3 separate regions of the Homo sapiens genome follow, and regions 1 and 2 are each linked to region 3. Evidence: promoter capture Hi-C in human tissues and cell types (Jung and others, 2019). All regions are on one chromosome and are shown on one strand. Each heading gives the region's core, a stretch centred on a gene start or on the middle of the fragment in contact. The rest is flanking DNA. Distances are from core to core; before and after follow the strand shown.

What was found. Contacts are between HindIII fragments. The study calls those that stand out against the background at their distance.
Region 1: the fragment with the promoter of CARD14 here is called in contact with the fragment with the promoter of CBX4 in region 3 in 1 of the 25 tissues and cell types used here (pancreas).
Region 2: the fragment with the promoter of EIF4A3 here is called in contact with the fragment with the promoter of CBX4 in region 3 in 1 of the 25 tissues and cell types used here (liver).

Annotation. Positions count from the first base shown.
Region 1 is chr17:80,167,895-80,171,392 of GRCh38, reverse strand. It overlaps CARD14 (caspase recruitment domain family member 14), which reads right to left and starts at 1,363. Exons shown (of 24, transcript NM_001366385.1): 1 at 1,337-1,363. The HindIII fragment of the contact is 21,960 bases long and covers 1-3,498 here.
Region 2 is chr17:80,145,520-80,149,241 of GRCh38, reverse strand. It overlaps EIF4A3 (eukaryotic translation initiation factor 4A3), which reads left to right and starts at 2,114. Exons shown (of 12, transcript NM_014740.4): 1 at 2,114-2,449. The coding sequence starts at 2,281. RefSeq lists enhancers at 33-745, 746-1,459, 1,460-2,172, 2,173-2,887 and silencers at 1,456-1,645, 2,486-2,535. The HindIII fragment of the contact is 11,065 bases long and covers 1-3,722 here.
Region 3 is chr17:79,837,964-79,841,541 of GRCh38, reverse strand. It overlaps CBX4 (chromobox 4), which reads left to right and starts at 2,102. Exons shown (of 5, transcript NM_003655.3): 1 at 2,102-2,359; 2 at 2,488-2,531. The coding sequence starts at 2,291. RefSeq lists enhancers at 1-620, 2,265-3,086, 3,087-3,578 and a silencer at 1,506-2,215. The HindIII fragment of the contact is 26,084 bases long and covers 1-3,578 here.

The DNA.
Region 1 (3,498 bases), core at 114-2,613, 330 kb before region 3:
GAGCTATGATTGTGCCACTGCCCTCCAGCCTGGGTGACAGAGCAAGACCCTGGCTCAAAAAAAGGAAAAGAAAGAAAGAGAGAGAGAGAGAAAGAAAGAAAGAAAAGAAGAAAAGAAAGAGAGAGGAAGGAAGGGAAGGAGAGAGAGAAGGAAGGAAGGAAGGAAGGAAGGAAGGAAGGAAGGAAGGGAGGGAGGGAGGGAGGGAGGGAGGGAGGGAGGAAGGGGAGGGGAAGGGGAAGGTGAATGGGAAGGCGCCAGGAGCCGTGGCTCACGCCCGTAATCCCAGCACTTTGGGAGACCAAGATGGGCGGATTACCTGAAGTCAGGAGTTTGAGACCAGCCTAGCCAACGTGACAAAACCCTGTCTCTACTAAAAATAAAAAAATTAACCAGGTGTGGTGGCGTGCACCTATAGTCCCAGCTACTTGGGAGACTGAGGCAGGAGAATCACCTGAACCCAGGAGGCAGAAATTGCAGTGAGCCGAGATTGTGCCACTGCAACTCTAGCCTGGGCGACAGAGGGAGACTTCTGAAAAAGGAGAGAAGAGGGGAGGGGAGGAGAGGGGAGAGGAGGGGAGGGGAGAGGAGGGGAGGGGACGGGAGGGGAGGGGACGGGAGGGGAGGGGAGGGCCCAGAGATCTCTAATTCCAAACTCTGAATCTAACTGTACAGCAATTCTAGAAGAGCCTAAGATCATAAAATCCTGAGCATCTAAGATGTGGGTTCTCCTTATTTGACCCCTCCCAGGTCAACATCCTTCTCCTAACCCAAGTGTCAGTCTCTTCCCTTGCCAGTGAAGTAGGGAAGAAGGCATGTACACATACACACACGCACACGCACACACACACATGTACATACCCCATGGGGGGCAGAGGGTCACAAGCCCAGGAGGAGGGGGCACAGCTCACCTCGGCCCCCCAGTGCCATGACAGGCTGGCTGTGCCTCTGCTACCAACAGCAGCCAGCTGGTCTTGCTCACTTTGTTCTGAACTTAGACACCTTCCTTCTGCTGTCTTTCATCCCACGGCAATAGCGAAGAGATGAGAGTATAAAACAGAGATCCCTTTCATCTAGCATGACCCATGCTGTTTTAAGGCAGAACTCAGCATTCAGAGAATGTTCCAGTGATTGACCCAGCAACACAGACAAGCCGTTTTCTGTTCTCTAGTCCACATACAAGGCAGCTCCTCCACTCCTGATGAGGAAGATGCCGGCCCCTCCCACTCCCCTGGGACCACTCTCGGGCCCCATCAGACCTGTGTCGGCTGAGCCCCTCCGTAGGCTGAGCCCTCCGTAGGCTGACCTGCTCTTCGCCGGATGGACTGCGCGCACTTACCTTCCCCCTCCCAGGGAAGCGAGGACTGAATGTGGCCCAATCTCTGGCTGAACTGAACGGCAGTGGACAAGCAGGTTTGACAGGCACATCCCACAGGAGCAGTGCCTTATATGGGGCTTCTATGAGCCATCGAAGCACCAGTGCAGTCCCACAGCTAGACATTGCCGTAAGAACCACAGGGATGGCTGAGAACAGTCCGTGCATCTGGTCGACCCACAGAAGATGGTGATTGAGGGTGATTGAGGGGAAGGCTTCAGGCTTGGGGGCTGGGAATCCTCTCTCCTTTGTGAACGGTCACCCAGTTCATCATCATTTCTACCCTTGGGAAAATCCTACGAAGATCAGGATAAATTCTAGGGCCTTTCTTGGTTCTCATGATCCATTATTGGAAGTATCTGAATAATTCCAATAGATCCATCTCAAGTTAACATTTCATAACTATTGTTTAGATTTAGATGAAAGTCTTGGTCCTCCACCTTGAGATATGTCTAGAATCCGATCCATTCTCACCACCTGCATTGTGGTGTCCTGATCATGGCCCACCGGGACCTCTGTAATGGCTCCTAACTTCTTCCCACGCCCCCATCACCAGCGCTCAACACAGCAGACAGAGAAGTCCTGCTAGGGCATGAGTCAGCTCCTGTCATTCCCTTCGGTGTACAGGTCCTGGAGTCCTCAGCGTGACCATGAGGCTCTGCTTATCAGGTCCTTGCTGACCTTATCTCTCTTTTACCTGCTCCAGACACACAGCCCAACAGTCTTGACAGTCCAGGCACACTTCTGCCCCAGGGCCTTTGCACCTGCTGTTCCCACTGCCTGGAACACTCTTTCCCATCCCTCCTTCCAGACTCTACTCAAATGCTACTTCCCAGATCATCCTACTTAAGTCCGTAGACCTCCCATCCTGGCCTTCACTCCCCTTCCCTGTTCCATCTTCTCTGTGGGAATACTGCCTTGACCTAACGTGTATTCTAGTTACGTGGCTTCCTGCCAGCCTCCCCACTCCACAGTAACCTACTGAGGACAATAATTCTTGTCTTTCTTGTTCCCTGCTGTGTCCCCACCCCTAGGGCTGTGATATTCCACAAATATTGGTTGAGCGAATGAATAAACATTGGTTAGGGGCTTGGTTCCCAATGATGCAGACACTGAAAGAAGGGAAATTCACAGGTCCATGGCCTGAGAACCTTCAGGATTATCCTGCGGACAATCAAAGATCGGCCTTCAAGGTCATGTAGCTCATGGTGGCTGAGCAGTAGCTCCAACCCAAATCTCCTGGTGATGAGCCGGCTGAAGGCACAGCCAGTTGGGCAGAGCAAGTGAGAACGCAGGCCGAGGCCAGGTGCAGACATGAACTCTCCAACCAGGGTTACAGCCCCACTGGGTGTCAGCTTCCCCTCAGGCAGTTCATTTAAGCCCCTAAGGCTCAGCTCTCTTAGTTTCCTCCAGCAGACCTCATGATAAGCCCTCCCCCACAGTGGGGAAGCTTGCCAGCTCATCACACTGTGCCAGCCACACAGAGAATTCTAGTTACAGAAAACGCAAAGAAATGCCGCCATTCCCAGTAAAAGAGGGGGGCAGAAGAATGCACTGGAGATGGGAGGAGCCTCCCTAAGAACAGAAATAGCCATAGAAATAGTCAAGGTGCAGCCATAGAAAGGAATGAAGGGCCTTTGCAGAGACATGGATGAAGCTGGAAGCCATCATTCTCAGCAAACTAACATGGGAACAGAAACCCAAACACTGCATGTTCTCACTCATAAGTGGGAGCTGAACAATGAGAACACATGGACACAGGGAGGGGAACAACACACACTGGGGCCTATGGTAGGGGGAGTGGAGGGAGAGCATCAGGACAAATAGCTAATGCACGTGGGGCTTAAAACCTAGGTGATGGGTTGACAGGTGTAGCAAACCACCATGGCACATGTCTACTTATGTAACAAACCTGCACATTCTGCACATGTATCCCGGAACCTAAAATAAAATAAAATAAAAAGAAACAGTCAAGGAAGCCACAACCCTGAAGGACCCTGTGTTTTCTGAGGTCAAAAACCATATCTTAGGCTAGGTGCAGTGGCTCATGCCTGTAACCCCAGTGCATTGAGAGGCTGAGGAGGGAGGATTGCTTGAGGCCAAGAGTTCGAGACCAGCCTGGGCAA
Region 2 (3,722 bases), core at 865-3,364, 310 kb before region 3:
AAGCACTCCTAGAAAGAAGCTGTGGATTAAAGATGTGCCCAGCGATGCAAGCCAGATTTGTGACCATAAGAAAGGACAGGACCGGGCTCATGCCTGTAATCCCAGCATTTTAGGAGGCTGAAGCGGGCAGATCATGAGGTCAGGAGTTCAAGACCAGCCTGACCAACACGGGGAAACCCCATCTCTACTAAAAATACAAAAATTAGCCGGGCGTGGTGGTGCATGCCTGTAATCCTAGCTACTCAGGAGGGTGAGGAAGGGGAGTCGCTTGAACCGGGAGGCAGAGGTTGCAGTGAGCCAAGATTGCGCCACTGCACTCCAGCCTGGGGAACAGAGCGAGACTCTGTCACACACACACACACACACACACACACACACACACAAAATAGCGGGGCGCGGTGGCTCACGCCTGTAATCCTAGCACTTTGGGAAGCCGAGGTGGGCGGATCATGAGGTCAAGAGATCAAGACCATCCTGGCCAACATGGTGAAACCCGGTCTATACTAAAAATACAGAAAATTAGCTGGGCGTGGTGGCGCGTGTCTGTAGTCCCAGCTATTTGGGAGGCTGAGGCAGGAGAATGGCGTGAACCTGGGCGACAGAACTTGCAGTGAGCTGAGATCGCGACACTGCACTCCAGCCTGGGCGAACCGAGCAAGACTCCGTCAAAAAAAAAAAAAAAAAAAAAAAAAAAAAAGGACAGAGCTGGCGCTCGTGGAAATACAATTTTCCCAAAGTTAAAAACATGATTCTCAACAGCATGAACTGCCCTTCAAAGATGATGGAGCTGCTTCAAAAGGCGTTAGAGGAGCTGGGTACGAAGAAGCACTTAAAGTGTCAGATAAGAAAGCGGTTAGTGGCTGCGCGTGGACACCTGTGGTCCCAGGTGCTCTGGAGGCTGAGGCGGGAGGATCGCCTGTGCTCGGGAGGTGGAGGCTGCAGTGAACCGAGATCGCGCCATGGCACTCCAGCCTGGGCGACAGGGCCAGACTGTCTCAAAACAAACAAACGAACAAACAAAAAGCAGGTTAAGATGCACAACTGGTTAAAGTTCTGCTGGGCAATTAAAAAATGATCCCGTCTGGGTTATCTTTGCTGCAGGACACGCATTAGCAGCACCGTCTACTGACAAGTGGCCTTCATTAAGAGCAAATTGCAGGCTCAGCATGTATTTTATTTATAACAGCTGCTTGCCGGGCACAGTGGCTCATGCCTGTAATCCCAGCACTTTGGGAGGCCAAGGCAGGCGGATCACCTGAGGCCCCGCAGTTCAAGACCAGCCAGGACAACCCTAACCCCCGCCTCCCCCAACCCCGTCTCTACAAAAAAATTTAAAAAATTAGCCGGGCGTGGTGGCGCGCGCCTGAGGTCCCAGCTACTCCAGAGGCTGAGGCGGAGGCTACAATGAACCCTGATCCTACCACTGCACTCCAGCCTGGGCGACGGAGCGAGACCCTGTCTCCAACTCACCAGGCAAACGGTGAAGACACACCCAGGCGCGTCCCCTAAGAGGGACGCCGGCTTCAGGGGCCCTGGCCCTCCCCAGCGCAGACCCGCCGGAGCCCAGCGCCGCGCCGGGGCCCACCACCGGCGGCCGTGAGGGTTTCCACTCGAATCTCCCCGGCGAGCTGGGCGCCTCCACTACGGGTCTGCGACGCAGTCCACCCACTGCGGGCCCGAGAGAGGACCCGTGCTCGTCATTTTTATTCGAGGCGGGGCTATCTGGGGACCCCGCCCGGAGCGGAGGCCCCTCGCGGCCCCAGCCTGTTTCCAGGGAATTCAGGTCCACACGCCGCTCAAAGAACCTCAGCGCCCCAGTCCGCGAAATCCCGCGGCCGGTACGAAACACCGCCAACTTTAGAAGTACCACCCCCTCCATCCCTTTCGTAAGGAACTGGGTGCCCCGCCCTCAACGAGATCCCGCGGGAACTGCATATGGCGCGAGAGCAGAAACACCTTACTTTTCCCTGCGGCAAACGCCCAGTTCCCTTTCACGTGACGAAGAGTGCCCCGTCCCCCAGAGGCGTGGCCGCGTCGCGCGTACGCACGTACGCACGTACGCACGCACGTCTCTCGCTTTCGCATACTTAAGGCGTCTGTTCTCGGCAGCGGCACAGCGAGGTCGGCAGCGGCACAGCGAGGTCGGCAGCGGCACAGCGAGGTCGGCAGCGGCACAGCGAGGTCGGCAGCGGCAGCGAGGTCGGCAGCGGCACAGCGAGGTCGGCAGCGGCAGCGAGGTCGGCAGCGGCGCGCGCTGTGCTCTTCCGCGGACTCTGAATCATGGCGACCACGGCCACGATGGCGACCTCGGGCTCGGCGCGAAAGCGGCTGCTCAAAGAGGAAGACATGACTAAAGTGGAATTCGAGACCAGCGAGGAGGTGGATGTGACCCCCACGTTCGACACCATGGGCCTGCGGGAGGACCTGCTGCGGGGCATCTACGCTTACGGTGAGCGGGCGCGGGCCGCGGGGGCCAGCCGGGGGCGAGTCGGGGGCGAGCCGGGGGCTGAGGGCCAGACTGGTGACTCCCGGGCCGGCCCTGCGCTCCGGAGGTCGTGGTCAGGGTCGAGGCTCGGGGGCCAGTGACGTCCGACCCCCACCCCCACCCCCGTCCTCGCCCTCACGCCTGGCTGTGTCGGCGCTTTCGGTGTGTGTCCCCCGTGCAGAGCTCGGCGCTGGGTCTGTCGGGGGCTGCAGCCGCTTCGAGGCACCTCAGCGTCCTTCATTCAGCAGATAACTGATTTCTACCTATTAGCTTTTCTAGGTACTGGGGTTTTGGCGGTAAACCGGAAGGGTTTGCGCCTTTACGGGTTTTGAATTTCGTTTGGGGGGAAAGCATACTGTCAGGTTGCCCAGGCAACCTGAAGAACCTGAAGCGGGGTAATTGAATAGAGTGGGACTGGGAAGGAGGAGAGAATTAGTAAAGCAGAGAGGTAAGGGGGTTCGCAGGAGGGGGTGCCATTTGAGCAGAGTTCTGGATGAAGGAGACTGTTATGAGAAGAGGGAAGAGCAGTTGGGGCAGAAGGAACAGCTGGTGCCAGGGCCTTGCAGCCCTTAGCCAGCTGCATTCCAGGAACTGAAAGAAGTCCCCTGTGGTGGGATTTTGGAGAGCTAGTCGGGGCAGATCTAGCAAAGACGTGTAGGGTGACGAATAATTTGAATTTCATTTAGAAATCTAGTGGGAAGCCAGTGGAAGGTTTTAAGTAGCTATGTGACACGATCACATTTACAGTTTTAAAGATTCTTCTGGGTGTCTGTAGATTTGAGGTGAGGCGAGGCAAGGCAGGAGAGGAAACAAGAGAGTTGGGAGCTTTTGCTGCAGTTCAGGGAAGAGAGGATTGTGCTGCCTTGGAGATGGAGTACCAGGGAGCTGACAGCATTGGCTGATGGATTGAACGTGAGTGACAGAAGGAGGAGAGTTGGAGTGTTTTGAGTAACCGGTGGTTGATGCTGCAAACATTTGGCTAGGTAGGCAGCACTCCAGAGAGTCAGAATCAGGAGCTGTCTCTTGGTATGTTTGAAAGATGTGAGGAAGTTGAGGGAGAGCCTGGAGAAGAGGTTGGGTTGGGCACATAGATGGGAATGACCAGCATCTGGGATAAATGGCCTGTGTTTAATGCTTGGGACAGGGACATTTTTTATCCTGTAGTTCTCTTCCTTTTCTTTCTTCCTTTTCCTTCTGACAGTCCTGCTCTTGTCACCAAGGCTGGAGTGTAGTGGCA
Region 3 (3,578 bases), core at 853-3,352:
TGCTGCAGACCTCCCGATGGTCCGACGGCGCAGACGGCCTGTGCGGCGTGGACGGATGACTGCCACCTACAGCGCTTCCCGCGCCAGCCTCGCGACCCCTCTCCCTCCGCGGTGGAGCTGCCCCGCGCGACAGTTCTTCGCCCTGGGCAAAAATGCCAGGAAAAAGCCAAACACGGCAGGAGAAAAATATTTTCCTGTACACCCACCCAGCTTCTGGTGGCCCCTGAGAGCCGGCCCCCACCCCCCGCAACTAGTCAGGGAAACCAGGCAGGCGTCGTCCCACCTTGCTTGCCCCCCCGCCGCACCCCAACACTCAGGGAATCCTAGGTTTGCGCCTCAAGCTCGTTAGAGATCAGTCGCAAACCCAACACCTCTGCTGTCACCAGAAGACAACCGTCACCCCTACACCCCTGGGGAGGGGCCACGTGGGTCTCGGTGGGTAGCAGCCGCCGGGCAGCAGCAGCCTCCGTGGCGCAAGAGCTGCAAGGTGGTAATGAAATGGAGTCCACGTGTGCGTTCAACACCAGACCGTCTTCGAGCTTCTCCGGGATTCCTGGGCGAACACGAGCCCCGCGCAGGCTCCTCCCTCCCCTGCTCGCCCGAGCCCCCGTGCGGTCCCCAACAGACAGCCGGGTCGCGTGTCAGGGCGGTGGTGGAGACCCGGATGGCTCTTTGCCCGCCCCCATCCCTCGCTCCACTCTCGCTCTGCTTTTGCTCTTTTTCTTTCTCCGTGGACGCTCAGCCAAGGGATTGCGCAAGCCTCCTGCTCGCGGTCCTTCAAGAGCCCGGAGCCGGGGCCCAGACACACCCCAGGCCAGGCGCGCCCCTGCCCCTGCCCCTCGGGCCGCGCTGTCCGCTCCCGGGTCCCCCCACCCCGACCCCACGGAGCTCGCGGGCCCTCGGCGGCGCCCTCGGCAGGCCGCATAGGGCGCAGCAGCTCCACCAGCCGGACGCAGGAGCCGCGCGCCAGAACGCGCCGTCTCGCCGCCGGAGGTGCCAAACTTCACACTCGCTGCTGCTCAGGCCGCGTCAGTCCGGAGGGCCTTGGCTTGGTCGCCTGTCGGGAACAAGGGTCCGCGGACACAAGGCGAATGCGTGGCTCCTCGGCCATTCCGTTCATCTCCCCTTTGCGCTGCCCGTTCGTCCCCCGCTCAGCCTCAAGCTCTTCCCGGCCCTCCCAGCTCCCTGTTTCTAGGCCACTCCCGGGACCCCACGAAGTCCCCTCAGGCCCCCAGGCGGACCCTGGCCTCCCGCGCCCGCTCTCTCTGCCTCCTACGCCTCTCGCCTAGCTTGGCTCTGGAGGCTGCTAGAAACAGGACATCTCGCCCCGTCAATAAGAGGACCAAGTGTAAATTCGGAGCCATTGAGGATCGGGGTGGGATCGGATTTGGAGCCCTTTCTGCCGAGGTTCTTGGGCGCCAGGGCCCCGGGATTGGCTGCTCCTCGGTCCCCTTCCTCGTGCGTTCTTCAATCTCTCCTTGGCACCCAGTCCTCGGCCTTCTCTCCGCCCTGTCCCTTTCCCTCCTCGCGCTCCAAAATGCCCGGAGCCTGGAGGCGAGGCGGGGCCCGCAGTGGGGCGCGAGCTGCCCCTGCCCCATTCCGCCCCCTGCCGGCGGGGCCCGCGCGTCCCGGGGCGCTGGTGACGCAATTCGGTGCAACTGGGAGCGGCGGCGGATGCTTCCGTGGCCCCCAGCAGGGGTCCCGGGGCCGTGAACACTGAGAACGTGCCGCGAGGGGGAGGCCCGGGCACCGGGATGTGGGCGAGGGGTCGCCGCCGAGACCCTTCCGGGCTGTCAAGCTCTCCGCCCGCCTCCGCCCCGGCGGACACACCTCTCCTTCCCGGTCCCGCTCCCTCTCTGCAGCCTCCCTCTCCCAGGCTCGCCGATCCCTCCCCCTGCACCTCCCCGGCGCCCTCCCCTCCGCGTCCCCCACCCGCGCCCTTTCCTCCTCCCCCCGCCGCCCAGGCCCGGGGCCTCCGGTAGGCCCGGCTGCGCCAATCCGCGCCGCGGCCCGCCCCCTGACGCCGAGCTGGGCCCGGCGAGGCCCCGCCCGCTGACGTCCGGGATTTGCATGAGTTCTTGTGCAGCCGCGGCCCGGGCTCAGTTGTCTGAGCGAGCGCGAGCCGGGAGCCGGGGCGGGCGCGGGCAGCGGCGGGCCGGCCGGGCTGTGCGGGGCGAGCGGCGGCGGCGGCGGGGGCGCTTCGGCCGGGGCGGCAGCTGGGCGCCGGCGGGAGCTAGCAGCGTCTGCAGCCGCGCCGGCCGCCAGCGCCCCGGCGCGCTCCGGCTCGGCCATGGAGCTGCCAGCTGTTGGCGAGCACGTCTTCGCGGTGGAGAGCATCGAGAAGAAGCGGATCCGCAAGGTAGGGCGGCGCGGGGGCGGCGAGCGGCGGCCGGAGCGGCCCGCGAGGAGGCGGGGAGGGGGTGGGGAGGCTGCGGGCCGGGCCGGGGATCCCGCGGAAGCTGATGGAGTGCTGTCTCTTCCCCCCAGGGCAGAGTGGAGTATCTGGTGAAATGGAGAGGCTGGTCGCCCAAGTAAGTCGCGGCGGAGGGCGGGGGCCCGGGGGCCGAGGCGCGGGGCTCGGGGCCGCGGACCCGCCGAGCTGCTGGGGGGGTGGGGGGAGCGGACGGGAGGCGGGGTGGAGGTGGGGTGGAGGGAGGAGGGGGTGGGGAAGTCGGTGGCAGGCACTGGGGAAGCCGAGCCGCCGAGCCCGAGCCCGGCGCCCTGTGTTGTGCTCCGCTCTCCGGGAAATGCCATCACTAATTTATGCACTAAAAGGAGCCGGAGGAGCTGGAGAGACGCGGGGCCGAGCCGGGGAGGCCGGCGGAGGGAGGGAGGGCGCAGGCACTGACTGATGTGCAGCAGAAAATGGCTCCTTTCCCCTTTCCCTCCACCGAACGGCTCCATATTGCAAAACCAAAAAAAAAAAATTAAAAAGCGACGAAAATGCAATTGTGTGCCTTCTCCCTCCTAGTGGTGCAGGGAGGGGAAGAAGAAAGGCAGAAAATGTTGGGAACTGTCACTGCGGCGCTTTTGGTGGAGAATTTTTTTTCTTTAATTTGAAATGCGAAGGCACCGGATGGAGATAGACGCGCAGGCACACGCACACTCACACACACACACGGAGGCATATTTTTGTGTTGCTGAGTATTTGGGGTTTGCTCGCCCGTGACAGCGGGCTCCTGGGCCACGAGGGGGTGTGGGGGGGACGCTTGGCTGTTGGCTATCGGATTAGGGGTCAAATGGAGAACGGCTGAAGCCCTCGCGGGGACTCGGGGCTGGGGAGAGGAGGGGGACTGCGACTTTGCATTTCGGCTGCTTTGCACGCAGGGTTCCTGGTGAGCAAAGTGGCTTTGGAACATGTCGCAGTAACATGCTTAAAATTCTTGACAACTGCAAAATAAACTGCTAGTTTCATTTTCCTTACCCCTCCCCTTTCTTCCTGCCCTTGCGTGTTTATTTGAGGGGGGGGCTGTGTATCAGGGACTACGTCAGGCCTGCGGAAATCTACCTTCCACATCCACGGCTAAATGTTCATAAAGACAGAGTAGGGCCTTATGTCACTCCCCACCTGGAGGCCG